5 separate regions of the Homo sapiens genome follow, and regions 1, 3, 4 and 5 are each linked to region 2. The links are contacts of gene promoters, found by promoter capture Hi-C in blood cells and fetal thymus (Javierre and others, 2016). All regions are on one chromosome and are shown on one strand. Each heading gives the region's core, a stretch centred on a gene start or on the middle of the fragment in contact. The rest is flanking DNA. Distances are from core to core; before and after follow the strand shown.

The links. Contacts are between HindIII fragments. The CHiCAGO score rates a contact against its expected background, and 5 or more counts as called.
Region 1: a contact is called between the fragment with the promoter of RNF217 here and the fragment with the promoter of HEY2 in region 2, in 3 of 17 cell types (M2 macrophages, M1 macrophages and M0 macrophages). The highest score is 10.2, in M2 macrophages.
Region 3: a contact is called between a fragment that was not itself captured here and the fragment with the promoter of HEY2 in region 2, in 1 of 17 cell types (M2 macrophages). The highest score is 6.1, in M2 macrophages.
Region 4: a contact is called between a fragment that was not itself captured here and the fragment with the promoter of HEY2 in region 2, in 4 of 17 cell types (M2 macrophages, fetal thymus, M0 macrophages and 1 more). The highest score is 7.9, in M2 macrophages.
Region 5: a contact is called between a fragment that was not itself captured here and the fragment with the promoter of HEY2 in region 2, in 1 of 17 cell types (M0 macrophages). The highest score is 5.4, in M0 macrophages.

Annotation. Positions count from the first base shown.
Region 1 is chr6:124,961,079-124,963,778 of GRCh38, reverse strand. It overlaps RNF217 (ring finger protein 217), which reads right to left and starts at 1,342. Exons shown (of 6, transcript NM_001286398.3): 1 at 353-1,342. The coding sequence starts at 1,234. It overlaps RNF217-AS1 (RNF217 antisense RNA 1), which reads left to right and starts at 752. Exons shown (of 7, transcript NR_026876.1): 1 at 752-956. The HindIII fragment of the contact is 3,639 bases long and covers 64-2,700 here.
Region 2 is chr6:125,748,279-125,750,978 of GRCh38, reverse strand. HEY2 (hes related family bHLH transcription factor with YRPW motif 2) reads right to left here and starts at 1,347. Exons shown (of 5, transcript NM_012259.3): 1 at 1,120-1,347. The coding sequence starts at 1,202. HEY2-AS1 (HEY2 antisense RNA 1) reads left to right here and starts at 1,554. Exons shown (of 5, transcript NR_183491.1): 1 at 1,554-2,020. RefSeq lists a silencer at 1,129-1,838. The HindIII fragment of the contact is 5,509 bases long and covers 1-2,700 here.
Region 3 is chr6:125,138,324-125,141,050 of GRCh38, reverse strand. No RefSeq gene overlaps it. Among named protein-coding and RNA genes, the nearest start is that of TPD52L1, 14 kb to the left of the region's middle. The HindIII fragment of the contact is 4,047 bases long and covers 1-2,727 here.
Region 4 is chr6:125,164,309-125,167,008 of GRCh38, reverse strand. All of the region lies in intron 1 of TPD52L1 (TPD52 like 1), which reads right to left. Among named protein-coding and RNA genes, the nearest start is that of TPD52L1, 12 kb to the right of the region's middle. The HindIII fragment of the contact is 679 bases long and covers 962-1,640 here.
Region 5 is chr6:125,117,487-125,120,217 of GRCh38, reverse strand. It overlaps LOC124901394 (a long non-coding RNA gene), which reads left to right. Exons shown (of 2, transcript XR_007059735.1): 2 at 2,087-2,591. Among named protein-coding and RNA genes, the nearest start is that of TPD52L1, 35 kb to the left of the region's middle. The HindIII fragment of the contact is 351 bases long and covers 1,294-1,644 here.

The sequences.
Region 1 (2,700 bases), core at 93-2,592, 790 kb after region 2:
TTGTTAGTTTCTGGGATACCAGGCCGATGAGGCAGTCTCTTCCTCTCCTCCTTTGAGCAAGCTTGTGCTTGCAATCCTGTATAAGAAATAAGAGGAGGGCAACAACTTGTATCTTGTGCCTTCTACACATGCCAACCATAGCCTGAAGTTCACAGCAAAGTTAAATTCCAGTTAAGTAAACCAGTGAGGTCATAATACACTTAAATAACAACTGAGACGTGAGAAACTAACAGAGATCCTCAGTAAGTGTGTCGGTCACCTCTTCGCGCGAGCAGGGAGATCAGATCGAGAGCAGGACCTCCTCGCCAGTGATTTGGAATGATAAATGGGGAAGAGAAGGGGGTGAAGTTACCTGGGCGCTCAGGTAGACTTTGAGGCACTCCTCGCACACGGCCTTCTTGCAGCAAGGCAGGGGCTTGATGGGCTTGTCTTCCAGGCACACCCGGCACATCAGCACCATGAGGGGCACATAGGGATCCCCTACACCGCCCAGGCCAGAGTAGGGTGGAGCTCCCAACAGGCTGGGCATGGAGAACGGCTCGGGCGCCAGGTAGAACTCCAGCTCGATGCTGCCGCCGTCGGGGGAGAGGGAATCCGTTGGGAGGGACAGTCGGGGGCTGGGGAAGGAAGAGCGGGTGCTGGGAGGGTTCAACACTGGCGGAGCCCCAGGTGGCGACGCGGGCGGCGAGAGCTGCTCCGAGGCGGGGGCCTCGGGCAGGTCGCTCTCCACGCAGTACACGGAGCAGAAGACTTGTCTCTTGGCGAGGGACGGGCGCCGCTGACCCAGCACGTCCAGGACCAGTCCGTCGGCGGCCCCCACGCGGGTCCTGGGCTCCAGCTCTTCGCCGGGGGGCGCCTCCTGCTGTTCATCCCCTCCCTCTTTTCGATCCCCAGCTTCCTCCTCTTCCTCCTCCAGCTCCAACTGCAGTGGCAAGGTCTGGGGATTGAGAGGCCCGGTGAGTGCCAGTCCCGCAGGCTGCGCCGGTGCTCGGCTCTTACTCCAGCCCGGGGGCCCCAGGCTCCTCGCGGGCTCTGGGGCGCTGGTGTCCGCGCAGCCCCAGTCGCTTCCGCAGCCACCGCCGCTCGGCTCCGCGGAGGCGGCGCGCAGCGGGGGCGCCCGGGCGCTGTCCCCCTGAGGCCTCGGGGGCTCAGGGTGGCCCGCAGTGCCACTGGCCAGGGTCTGCGACTCCTGGGGCCCGCCGCCGCCGCTCACCGTGCTCTGCTCCTCGCCCATCGCCGCCCGCGGCCCGCGCCGCCGCTGCCCATCCAGCCGCCGGGACCCCCACCCGGCGCCCGCGGGCAGCGGGGGCAGTGGCTCGGCTCGACTCGCGGCTCCGCTTCTGCTTCCGGGTCCTTCCTCCTGGGCTGGGACGCCCCAAGTCCCCTCCGGGGAGCCCGTGCTCCGAGGCTGCGGCGCGTGGGGAGCCTGGCCCGGCCCGCCGCTCCTCCTCGTACTCTGGCGCGGCGGGGCACCGCCTCGGGGGCGCCGAGGGCCGCTCGCTCTGGGCTCGGGCGCGCCCGCCCCACATGCAGCTCGGGGCGGCGCCGCAGCCCCAGCGAGCCCCAGGCGGGACAGAGGGGTCTGGGAGGAGACGGCCGTCAGTCCCGCGCCATCACCGGTCCCGGCTGCCGGACGCGCGGCCCGAGGGCGGTGGTCAAAGGGTCGAGGGGCCTGTGGCGCCGCCGCGGCGCGCACCAGGAGGTGCAGCCGGAGCGCTGGCCAGCCGCAGGGCCCCTGGGGGAGAGGCCGGAGCGGGCGACCTCCCTCTCCCCGCGCTTCACCTACAGCCCTCCTCGCCGCCCCTCACCCCACCCCTTTGGCGCACACCTCCCCACACGTACACACGCGCGCAGGCACCCGCGCACACACACACGCACACCCTGAGTGGGTGTGATCTAAGAGCTGAGATGCGCTTTCTCGCCCGGAGTTCACACTCAGCCTCAACAAAACCCTCAGAGCAGGCAGGCTCCCCTTTGGTCTCCGCATTCAGTAGAACTTCCTACAAAACTACACTCAGCTCTGGAATTAGTAAACGCTGGCTATTTAGGATGTCGAGTTCAGAGAAATAATGCTAAGGATTATGAATTCTAAATGCTGTATATTACAACTCTGTTTTTCTGCCTAGTGGAGTAGGAAGAATCTTCGAAACCCATAAATAATCGAAAAAGCACTTTCGATCTACTCCTCCAACTGGAATCCTTAGAAGAGTTGATAACTAATTTAAAATTTCTCTCTTTTTCTTCGCCTACAGTGTTCTCTTAGAAGTTTTTTTTTTTAACCCTTTTCAGCATTCCAAAATGGATAGCACAAGGTGGAAAAATGTCCTGACCTAATTAATAAACTGGATCATTAGTGGAAATCATGGGCAGTTTCATTAGCATAACCATATTTATCCTCAAAACTGTTTCCAAAACAACAATTATATGTGAGCCAGGACTTAATTATGTGTTGATCTATCTTTATTTTACAGGAAGTATTACTCACCCAGACACTGGTGTTTTAGTTCCCTAAAGCCAGTGAAAACATTTTTGGGAAGCCAGCCCTTGTTTTGTTTTTTTTCTCCTGAGAGGGAATTCAATTTACACATTCATGTAATAGCAAGGAACTGTAAAGTGTGTAGAATTTTATTTTTTAATCTCGAAGTTGTTATTGGGTTGTTCTAAAATATTTTCCAAATCAGATGCAAATGATACAAAGGT
Region 2 (2,700 bases), core at 98-2,597:
TGTTTCTCTTCATAATTCATGGATACTATGCTTCTTTGTGTTCTCAAATTCCCCAGGTTCCTGTTATTTGTTCTCTTTCATTTTAGAAATGCTGCACACACCAGGTTGCTATTACCTCACCTTCTCACTTCTGGATCTTATTTCTGAATTACCTGTCCCCCTCATTTTCACCCCTTCTTTACGGGTTTCACCTTTCACGTGATAGCTTCTGTTTTTCAGACCTCATTTTTAAAGACGGCACAACAACACTTTAATGATCAGATACTTAAACCTTTGCTTTCGTGTAAATATCTTTGCTCTTGCAGATTTTGTGCTTTGCTTTGTATGTATTAGAATAACAATATGAAAGAAAACCAGTTTTCCAAAGGTAGGAAGAATTTCCCTCTTTGAGTGACAGCTGCAGATAAATAATTAAGGTGCTTCTGGGGATGCCAATTAGAAGCAATTATCATTTGACCCGCCTTGGCTCTAAAATGCCTCGGTAATCTCCCTCTGTCACAGGAAAGTGGAGGTCTGGCTTCTGTGATTACGACGCCGATCTCTTCCAGACTTGAGAACAAGCAGTCAAAGAAATGATGCCCTTTCCGATGCTTACATCTGTCACTCACTCTTGCGTTAGCCAAGTCACACACGGTCAACCTGCAAAGTTCAACCTACGTAGCCTTGACATCGCAGGTTGCTTTAATTCCTCCAAAAATCAAGTTGTGATTTTGGTATCTCTAAAAATCAAAAATCAAATTGTTTTTATTTTCTCCTGATCTATTTTGAAAGTGCCCCCAAATACGGTTTCAGTGGCTGGGACATCGCCTGTCGCCCAGACGCTGCCGTTCGCGCGTCCAACTGTGACAGCCAGGACCCTCCCTCGCCAACTCCTGCGCTCTGCCTTTCAGTGGCGTCTCCCATCCTGGCTACTCCACCCCTACGGTGAAAATCCACATCCCTTGCCCCATCCCAACTCACGCTCTGCGAGCGCCCACCACTCAAACTTTCTCAGGCCAAACTTTCCCTCTCTACCTAGATGCTGCGGAGACCAGCCTCGGGATTTCCAGGGAGCCACGCATTCACAAAGCTACCCCAAGCTCCCGAGCTGCGGGCCGCTCCCGCGGAGCCCGCGCTCACCCCGAGTAATTGTTCTCGCTCCCCACGTCGATGGTCTCGTCCATGTCGCTCTCGGAGGTCGTCTCCTCGCAGGGGCGCTTCATCCCGGCGAAGACCGCGCGGGGCACAGCCCGGCCGGAAGCTCGGACGCCGAGCGGGGCGCAGCACCCTGACGCCCGCCTCCTCCCTCCCCGGGCCTGGGCAGGCGCGGCTCCGGCGGCGGCGCGGTCTGCTCCTAGCGGCTCTTTCCCACGCCGCAACTCTGCTCGGCCGCAAGAGCCGGCGCCGGCCACGCCCCCCCCTCGAGCGGGTGGGGCCACCTCACCCGCCCCCGCGCACCGGCCCAGGCCTTCCGCCCGGCACCTCCCCCTCGCTGGTCGGCGTGGCTCGCGATTGGCTGGGCCAGGGGGCGGGGCCGCGCTCGCCAATGCCCGCCGCAAGGCTCCAGCCGAGGCGTGGGAACGCGGCCGCGGACCTGGTACCCCAGAGCAGCGAGCGGGTGGGGAGCAGCCGGGGCGAGAATGAGCGCAATCTTGCTAACCCCTGCGGAGGGAGCGCGCGGGCGCCAACGCGGGCGCGCGGGGGCGGGCCCTGGACCTGGACCTTGGGTTTCGGCCCTCCTCCGCGCCCCGCGGTCTCGCGGGCGAAGTTTCAGTCCTGAGTGTAAAGAATAACCCCAAGCGCGTGGCTAAGTGCGAGCAGGCGCGTGTGACGTCGGGAGGCGCCGCGGCTCCTCGGCCGCCCCACTCGGTGGTCCCCTGTCTGGATCCAAACTGCTGACTGGCTGACCCGAGTGGTCACATTTGCCCTCTGGGGCTTTTGAAAACCTTAAATCAAAATTGCTTTTGAATCTGACAACTCCTGAGGCTACTTTCGCGGCCTCGGGGCTGTTTCATATAAGGACGCGAGTTTTCCTGATCAGGTCTGTCGGCCACGTTACGATTTCCAATTTGCGATCCATCAGTTACTTCCATTGGGTCTTCAGCCCCCAGGGACTGTGGATCCTAGACCCCGCGGAGAAGCCCGTGGACTGGAGCTGTGTCAGCTCTGATGGTAGGAAAGACTAGATCAATGACGCGGGCATTTCAGGACATAATCGTATATTTTCAAGTTCGAGTTTTTCGGGCTTGGATTATCCAGATAATTGCCTCCAGTCTCCTCCAGTCCCCCTGGTGTATGCACTCGCAGCCGCAGAGTTAGAGTCCGGGAGGTGAAGATTGGCGCTTGGAAATTAGATTTGGTTTCTAAAGTATGAATTCGTGTCCAACAGTTCGTGCCTTGGACAACGTGGGTTGTATAAAACTCAAGCTGTGTGTTTAAAACAGGTTTTCTAGCTGCTGGTTCTCTCCAAGTTATGTAGGACTTTTGAACTGGCCACCCCGCTGTGCGTCTGCGAGGGCAGGGACTGAGCGAGACCCAGCCAGGGGCGCCGGGAGACTGGCGGCGGCTGGGTTGGGGTCCAGCCGGAAACCACACGTTGGCAGGGCCGCTTGGTCAGTAGTGGAGAGAGCCTCTGAGAAAGGGCCGTCTATCGATCCCCAGACCCCTCCGTCACGGAGGGATTCATAGCTTCCTGGGGATCGGCCCAGGGCGTCCCTTTGA
Region 3 (2,727 bases), core at 89-2,588, 610 kb after region 2:
AGAAAAACATTTTCATGAGCTATCTCTTAGGAGTTGTTGTTTCTTGGTGGTAAGTTCCTTCTCATGAGTAATAGCTGAAGCATGGAACTCAATTTTTCAGGGAATATTTCTACAATCAGTTTATGAAGCAAATTTATATCAGAAAAATTAGATGTCAAATACATCCCATATAATACTGTTGGGGCTCAGAGAACAATACCCCAAAGAGTGGCACTTTGGCATGCTGAGTACTTTGAACCAAAGAAGGAAGTACTGGAAGGGCTCAGAAGCAGCCTCAGATGCAGTCTCCCTCTGACCTTCTCCTACCCTCCTGTCTCCCTCTCCTTTTTCTCACCCAAAGCAAGTTATAGAAACCAGAATTTCTCTTCCCCATGGTGAGTGTATTCGTCTGTTCTCACACTGCTATCAAGAGATACCTGAGACTGGGTAAATTATAAGAAAAGAGGTTTGATTGACTCACAGTTCCACATGGCTGGGGAGGCCTCAGGAGACTTACAATCATGGCGGAAGGCACCTCTTCTCAGTGCAGCAGGAGAGAGAATGAGTGCCAGCAGGGGAAATGCCATACATTATAAAACCATCAGGGCTGGGCGTGGTGGCTCACACCTGTAATCCCAGCACTTTGGGAAGACAAGGTGGGCAGATCACCTGAGGTCAGGAGTTTGTGACCAGCCTGGGTAACATGGTGAAACCCTGTTTCTACTAAAAATACAAAAAATTATCTGGGCATGGTGGCACTTGCCTGTAATCCCAGCTACTCAGGAGGTTGAGGCAGGAGTGAGCCGAGATAGCACCATTGCACTCCAGTTTGGGCAACAAGAGCGAAACTCCATCTCAAAAAATAAAAAATAAAAAAGTAAAACCATCAGATTATGTGAGAACTCACTATCATGAGAACAGCATGGGGGAAACTGCTCCCATGATTCAATTACCTCCCACCAGGTCCCTCCCATGACACTTGGGGATTATAGGGATTAAAATTCAAGATGAGATTTGGGTGGGGATGAAGCCAAACCACATCAGTGGGTCATAGAAACTAGAACCACATCAGTGGGTCATAGAAACTAGACCCACATCAGTGGGTCATAGAAACTATCCCAAAGGCAGCCATAAAACCTAGAAACATTATTCTAACCTTAACCTACCTTTCAGTATACCAGTTGGCCATAAGGAAAATGTCTAATCTACCTTGTCTTATAGTAGATAATAAGACTCTCATTCCAGAGGGGCCCTGCTTCATACCCAGGAGGAAGGAACGCCACACAGAAAGACAGAGAAGAATCTGAGCAGCGATGCCTTGCTGGGTTTCCCTCCTCAGCCTATTACCGTAAGATCATTCCCTTTTGTCCAATCACATTTCTGCATAGCTGTCTACTCTTCAATGAATATAAGCATTAAAATGGACTGTTTTACCTGGGTCTTTGTTTCTGAAGTACCCCGTGTCACGATAAACTTTGATTACATAAATTTGTTGTAATTTTTTGCCTTGTTAATTTGTCTTTTGTTATAGGAATGTTGGCTGTGACCCTTATGATGGGTGAGGAAAGGTGTCACACCTGTGCCTCCCCTACATTACTAATTAATTCAGGAATTATCTACATTTTACATTCACTAATTCCAATCAATCACACAATCTATGTAAAAAGAACTCTAAGTTTTATTTTGTTGCTCATGTTTACAGAATTGCTACATTAATTTATTAATTTCAAAATTTTAAACAATTGTTTAAGCATAAAACAATCACGTTCTCTAGTGAAAATCTGTGAGTTACTTTTAATAAGACTAAACAAAAAATTTATAAATTTTATTTAAAAATGAGAAAAAGAATCCAATAATTTTCATCATTCATTTAAGGTTCTGATATGGAACTTTGAAAAAAAATCAATTTATACATTCATTTCACTCCATACGTCCAAATTAATTCCATAGAAATTAAAATATTGAATATTTTTAAAATGTAGAAAAACTAGAATAGAATATAATTGAATATTAAGTTTTAAGGTGTGAGTGGTACTTTCAGAGTTCAAAAGTGATAGAAATCATAAAGGGAAAGGTTAACATGTGTGGCTTCAAAAATTAAAAATTCTGTCCATCAAAAATGACCAAAATTAGCAAATTAAAAAATAATTTAATAAAAAGATGTAGAGGACAAAAAAATATTTCCAGCTACCCTTCCAGGTTCTTTGGCTGGTCTATGGATTAAACTGACATAAGAAAGATCAACAGGAGAAAAACAATTTTAATTATGTCCATAGAGGAGTTCAATAAAAATGTAAGACTCACCAGATAATTTAAACTTACATATCATCCTGACCTACAGAAAGGAATAGGAGTTTAGGGATTCTAGGTAATGGTAGAGGAAAATTATGGGAGGGCAAGCGGAGGAAATGTATTGTGAATAGAGGTTGCCTTGTTAATCAAGTAAAAGTCTCTCAGGTGATACAATTGTCACGTATCTTTACTAATGAAAATTTCCTTATGGGTGTAAATTCCTGCACACAAGGGAATTTTTATGTTTTATTTTAGGAAGTTGAAGGAGAGAAAGAGTTTTTCTTGCTTTGGCTGGCTCTCAGTTATTTTTAGCTCAAAGTAATCAGTATGCCAAAGTGGCATATTTGGGGATGGCCTATTCTTATATCCTAGAGTTATATTTTGGGATGGTATGTCCTAAACTTCATCAATAGAAAATGCGCTAAATGCTCTAGACTCTAAAAGACCTTGTATAGC
Region 4 (2,700 bases), core at 52-2,551, 580 kb after region 2:
CTGGAATTACAGGCATGAGCCACCCTACCCAGCCCATAAGAGTTATTTTGAGCTGAAGGCATTTGAGTTCCCGAAATCCTTTATCTGACTAAAAGCAGAGGTTCCCAAAAGAACTCAGCTGTCACAAATTCCTCCCACTGGGAGCAACTCTTTCTTCTCTTCTAGACATTGTCACAAACTGTCATATCTCCCATCTATTCTCCTAAGGACCCATTTATCTTTTTTTTTTTTTTTTAAAGAAGTCATTTGCTCTCTCAATATTGCCTTTTCTCCACCTCCCTTTCCTGTAGTAAAATGATACAGAAAATCAAATCTCATCACTCCTTGGGGTATTCATTTCTTTCTATGACACCCTTGTGCAAGCAAAATTTAAAATAAATAACTTTGTAAGCTTTTTCTCCTGCTAGTCTGTCTGCTGTAAGTTTAATTCACAGGCTCCTAGGCACTTCACCTAAGAGGGTAGAAAAAAAGTTTTTCTTCCCCTCCAATGCTTATGAGAGCCTTCCAATCATTTTAAATAAACTTTACAGGTAGTGCAGGTATCTTGTAACTTCCTGTTGGAACCCTGGGATATCTAAAGAGGAATAACAGGAGCCAAGGTCTATACTTCTTCCCAGGGCTGACCTAACCCTTCAGGAAGAAAAACCATCTTTCCATGACGTCTTTATGTAGAAATGAGTCCATTTTGGAAAACAAAATGTTGGAAAATATTTATAGACAATGAGCTATTAGCTCTTTATGCAGAGAGAAAAATCAGTGAAAAACTACAAATATCCAACCATCAGAGACTTTAAAACTGAGAGATCTGAAGAGATCTCCTCCCACTACCCCCATCCCAAATTGGCTTTTTCTTTTGAATGAATCAGTTCTGCTTCCGTGAATATGCTTGGGAGATGGTTAAATGAATAAAACATATCCATGTAAACAAGTAATTATAATACTCATGAGGCAATAAAAAGCTTTCTTTTTTTGGGTACTCATTGAAATTAGTCCTTTCAGCCAACATCTAAAGGATACAAATCCTACTTTCTGGAAACAAGCACGCAGATCCTATGACTTATTTATTTTAAAATACTGAGATTACTGGGTATGGACGAACACCAAGTAGAATAACATATTTGAACCATTCCATATTTGAACTGACTTTTCCTAGCAGCTGGTGATAAAACTCTATACTGGTTCTAAGAATTACATCTCATGTGACTTTTACGGATCTTTTTAATCTTGAATCAGTTCTGCTTCCATGATCCTTGACAAGACGCTCTTGCTATTAATGGACAAAAGAAATGTCTAATTATAAGAAAAATGTATTTCCAAGGAGTTGAAGAGTTTTCCATATTTTAGATATATGTCAGGGAAACTGTAATTTGTATAAGATACAAATAACCATAGGTAAGTTTGGAGATGAGGTGTAACATATACATGCATTTTTCATGTGTGGTACATGATCTGGCTACAGCAAAGTGCTAGATTTTTGCCTTTTGAGAAAGAAGCAATATGTTGGTGACTAAGGGTATTCTTGGAGATTTGTGGTTTTATTCTGGGAACTTCACTTCCTCTGCATCAAAATGCATCACTTATAAACGATTCACACTGTGAGAAATTGCTTAAAATTCATCTTTCCTTGAGGACCCAAAGCTTCCTTTTAGCCATTTCAAATTCATTAAAATATTCTCCTGCCTTCCCTGGTACATTAACAATGCTTCTCAATTTAATGCATATATTTCAAATCATTACACTTTATTGCTTAAATATTCAATGAAAAGTAGGATGACAGATGTGAATATCCACATTTTGAGGTCACCTTTTATGTGTTCTTAACTGTGTAGTAACTCAGTAAATTTTTTCTTGTTTTACTTTTTTCTTTTAGTTTTATATATGTATACAAAACTATATATATACAGTTAAAATATATATATATATCTTTTTTTTAAGAGACAGGGGTTTTGCTTAGCCTGGGTTTGAACTCTGGAGCTCAAGTGGTCCCACTGCCTCAGCACCTTGATTAGCTGGGACTATAAGCACTCACCACCATGATCAGCTTAACTCAGTAAATTGAAGAAGTGACTGGCTTTACGGTGTTGTTGGGGACATTTCGCAACAGAAGTAATGGTGAACCTCTGCCTGCATGGAGAGCATGCCAGCTGATCAATGACTGAGGCAGATGCCCTCTTTTCTGCAGTTGCTGCTTCAAACCGTGAAAATTCAACACAGAGATGGCTAGAGTCGCTTAAGGACAAATCCATTGATGGCTCATTTTTTTCAACAGTTTTACTAGGTATTTTCTTAAAGTAGTTATTCTGCTAGTATGGTTGGGAGATGGTTAAATGAATAAAACATATTCGTGTAAACAAGTAATTATAATGTTCATGAGGCAATAAAATGCTTTCTTTTTTGGGGTACTCATTGAAATTAGCCCTTTCAGCCAGCATCTAAAGAATACAGATTCTACTTTCTGGAAAGAAGCATGCAGAGCCTGTGACTTTTATTTATTTTAAAGTCCTGAGATGACTGAATATGGATGAACACCAAGTGGAATAACATATCTGAACAGACTTTTGTTTGAGCTGGTGATAAAATTCTGTATTGGTTTAAGAATCACATGTCATGTGATTTTTATAGAATTCTTCATCTTGAAAACAGAACAAAAATAGCAAGCTGTTGATAAATGAGCATCCTCCACCCGCAACTTGACATGTC
Region 5 (2,731 bases), core at 220-2,719, 630 kb after region 2:
CAGTCGCAAAGGGATCTTTTCCAGCAGTCCCATCAGCTCTCATGTTTCCCGCTTTGGAAAGAAAAAAAGCTCCCCATGTCCAGTGGTCCTATACATGCCTAATCCTGTCACCCACAGCTGTCAGCAAAAAGTGCAAAGCAAATTTAATTTTTTAAAATCAATTAGTCGCTTAAGTTTTTTATTTGCCTTTTGTAAAGTCTTTAAATAAAAATACTGAAATCTTTTTAGAAGCTTCTGCATATCAATAGCCATGCCTACAGGAGACTAATTTGGGAGCCCTCATTTTCAAACGCACTTTAGTGCAGTTTTATTCATTTGGAACATTCCACTGTAAGTTATCTTTAGTAAGATTTCACTATTACTCTAAGACTTCACTACTTCTGGGGCCTAACACTTACGCATGTATAAGCTGGAGGGAACTCAGTTTTCCAAAAATTAAGGATCCCATTTTTTACCTAAAATATTGGTTTTGTTTCTAGGTTCCCTTGATTGACTTAATTAATGATTTTTTTCCTCCTACCTAAGCACACAAGAAAAGTGGAAAAAAAAAAAAGGTAGAACACAAAAATCCCTTTGAATTTTCAAAAGCCAAATTTTTACACCCCCTGCAATATTACTATTTACCACCAGTTTCTTTCTGACCCAGTCAGATGTGCGAGGCCTCTAACTGGATCCAAGTCAGTTAATTACTGGGTCAAATGTGATCCTGGACCCAGTCCAGTTTCTGTCATGACTTCCAAAACCAGTTTGGATCACAAATTTGCTCAAAGAAACTCAGTGAGCTCAAAACACAAATCCGTGGAGCTCTGAAATGCCAGAGAGAACTTACCACAATCCCCAGCTGCTCCAATAGATCAGTGAACACAAATGGGTCCTGTAGGTACTTCACTTGGTCGCTCAGCGCTCCTGAGGGTCGTTGGAAGCTCTACTTCGGATCCCATCCTCATTGCTATCTAATAAAAGAAAAGCTGGGCCAGGCGCGGTGGCTCAAGCCTGTAATCCCAGCACTTTGGGAGGCCAAGGTGGGCTGATCACAAGGTCAGGAGATCGAGACCATCCTGGTTAACACTGCAAAACCCCGCCTCTACTAAAAATACAAAAAATTAGCCGGGCCTGGTGGCGGGCACCTGTAGTCCCAGCTACTCAGGAGGCTGAGGCAGGAGAATGGCATGAACCCGGGAGGCGGAGGTTGCAGTGAGCTGATATCACGCCACTGCACTCCAGCTTGGGCAACAGAGCTAGACTCTGTCTCAAAAAAAAAAAAAAAAAAAAAAAGAAAGAAAAAGAAAAGCTTCAGCCAAATTGTTACAATTGTTAACTAATTTAATGAATGATTCATGAATTGGGCAGCCTTCACAGCCAGAGTAGTCTCTGAGACTCCAGAGCAGCCACATGGTAGATTTATGGACAGAAAAAGGAAAGTGACATGTAGAAAATTGAAGAGAGGTAAAGAAACAGCTGGATTGGTTATAGCTCAGTGTTTGCTTTATTTGAACAGGTTCGAACAGTTGGCTACATTTGACTGGCCAGAACTCGGTGATTGGCACAGGTGTAGGCTATGGTCTGTTTATACCTTCACTTGTTATAGTTCAAGATGTATAGAAACACCTTTAGGCCTGACTTAAAATATGTAGGAAGGAAGCTTTATGCTAAACTTGATTTAACAATTCCTTTATCTGAGGTTATAGTTCTTTTTGAGTTGAAACTTTATTAAGGATATTCTCCCATTTGGCTTTTCACCCTTTGTAATTCCAAGACTTCGCCGCCCCCCTTATTTCTCTCTTCATGGAAATAGGAAACTCTGTATGCCTCCAAGGATCCTTCTTTCTCCAGATACCCGCTGACAGTTCTCTCGGTCCTCATATTTACTTTACTATTTTTTAGTTATCTCTTTTTATGAAAAGTATATTTAACATTTTCAACAATTTAAGTATATATACATTTGTATTTAGTGGAATGGTATCAGGCTGTCTAGTCTATCATATTGTCAGAATTAAAGAATTTAAAATGTTCATTTATAAAATTCAAATTTACTATACTAATATAATATTTTCTCATTCCTAGTTTTTCCTTTCTTATTCTCTAGACATTGAAGAAGTAATAGTTGTTATCTTCAAATCTTACCCTATGGAACTAGGATGCACTGAAAGAGGAACAAAGCAGACACACATCGCCTTGGCGTGTTAATGAGGTGTCAATACAGCTCTTTGCCAAGAATAACTCCTGACTTAAGATGATGCTTGAAATCTTCCTGTGAGTCACTATTCTGGGTACCTTGAAGACAGTTGTTAAAAACCAAATATGTTCTTACAAATTGGTGATATATTAATTCATTGTCATACGTTAATGCATGTTTTGTATAAATTTATGGGATACAAATGCAATTTTGTACATGCATAGATTGTGTAGTGGTCAACTCAAAGGTTTGTATAGCATCCATCACCTGAATAACATATATTTACTCATTAAGTAATTTCTCATTTTCTACCCTCCTTTTCACACCCCCATATGCTAATACCTCAAAAAAAGAATTAAGGACTTGAATTTGGTAAGTTGGATTGAGAAAAATAAAAATAGTGTGTCATTTCAAAGTGAAGGTTCATTTGGAGTGTCTAGAGAATAGAATTTATTGAAAGCAAGAAAGATGGTTCCAAAGAGTGTTCGAGGAATGTTAAAAAAAAACTTTTGAGATATCTTTCATCATTTATAATATGATGGTTATAATTGTAAA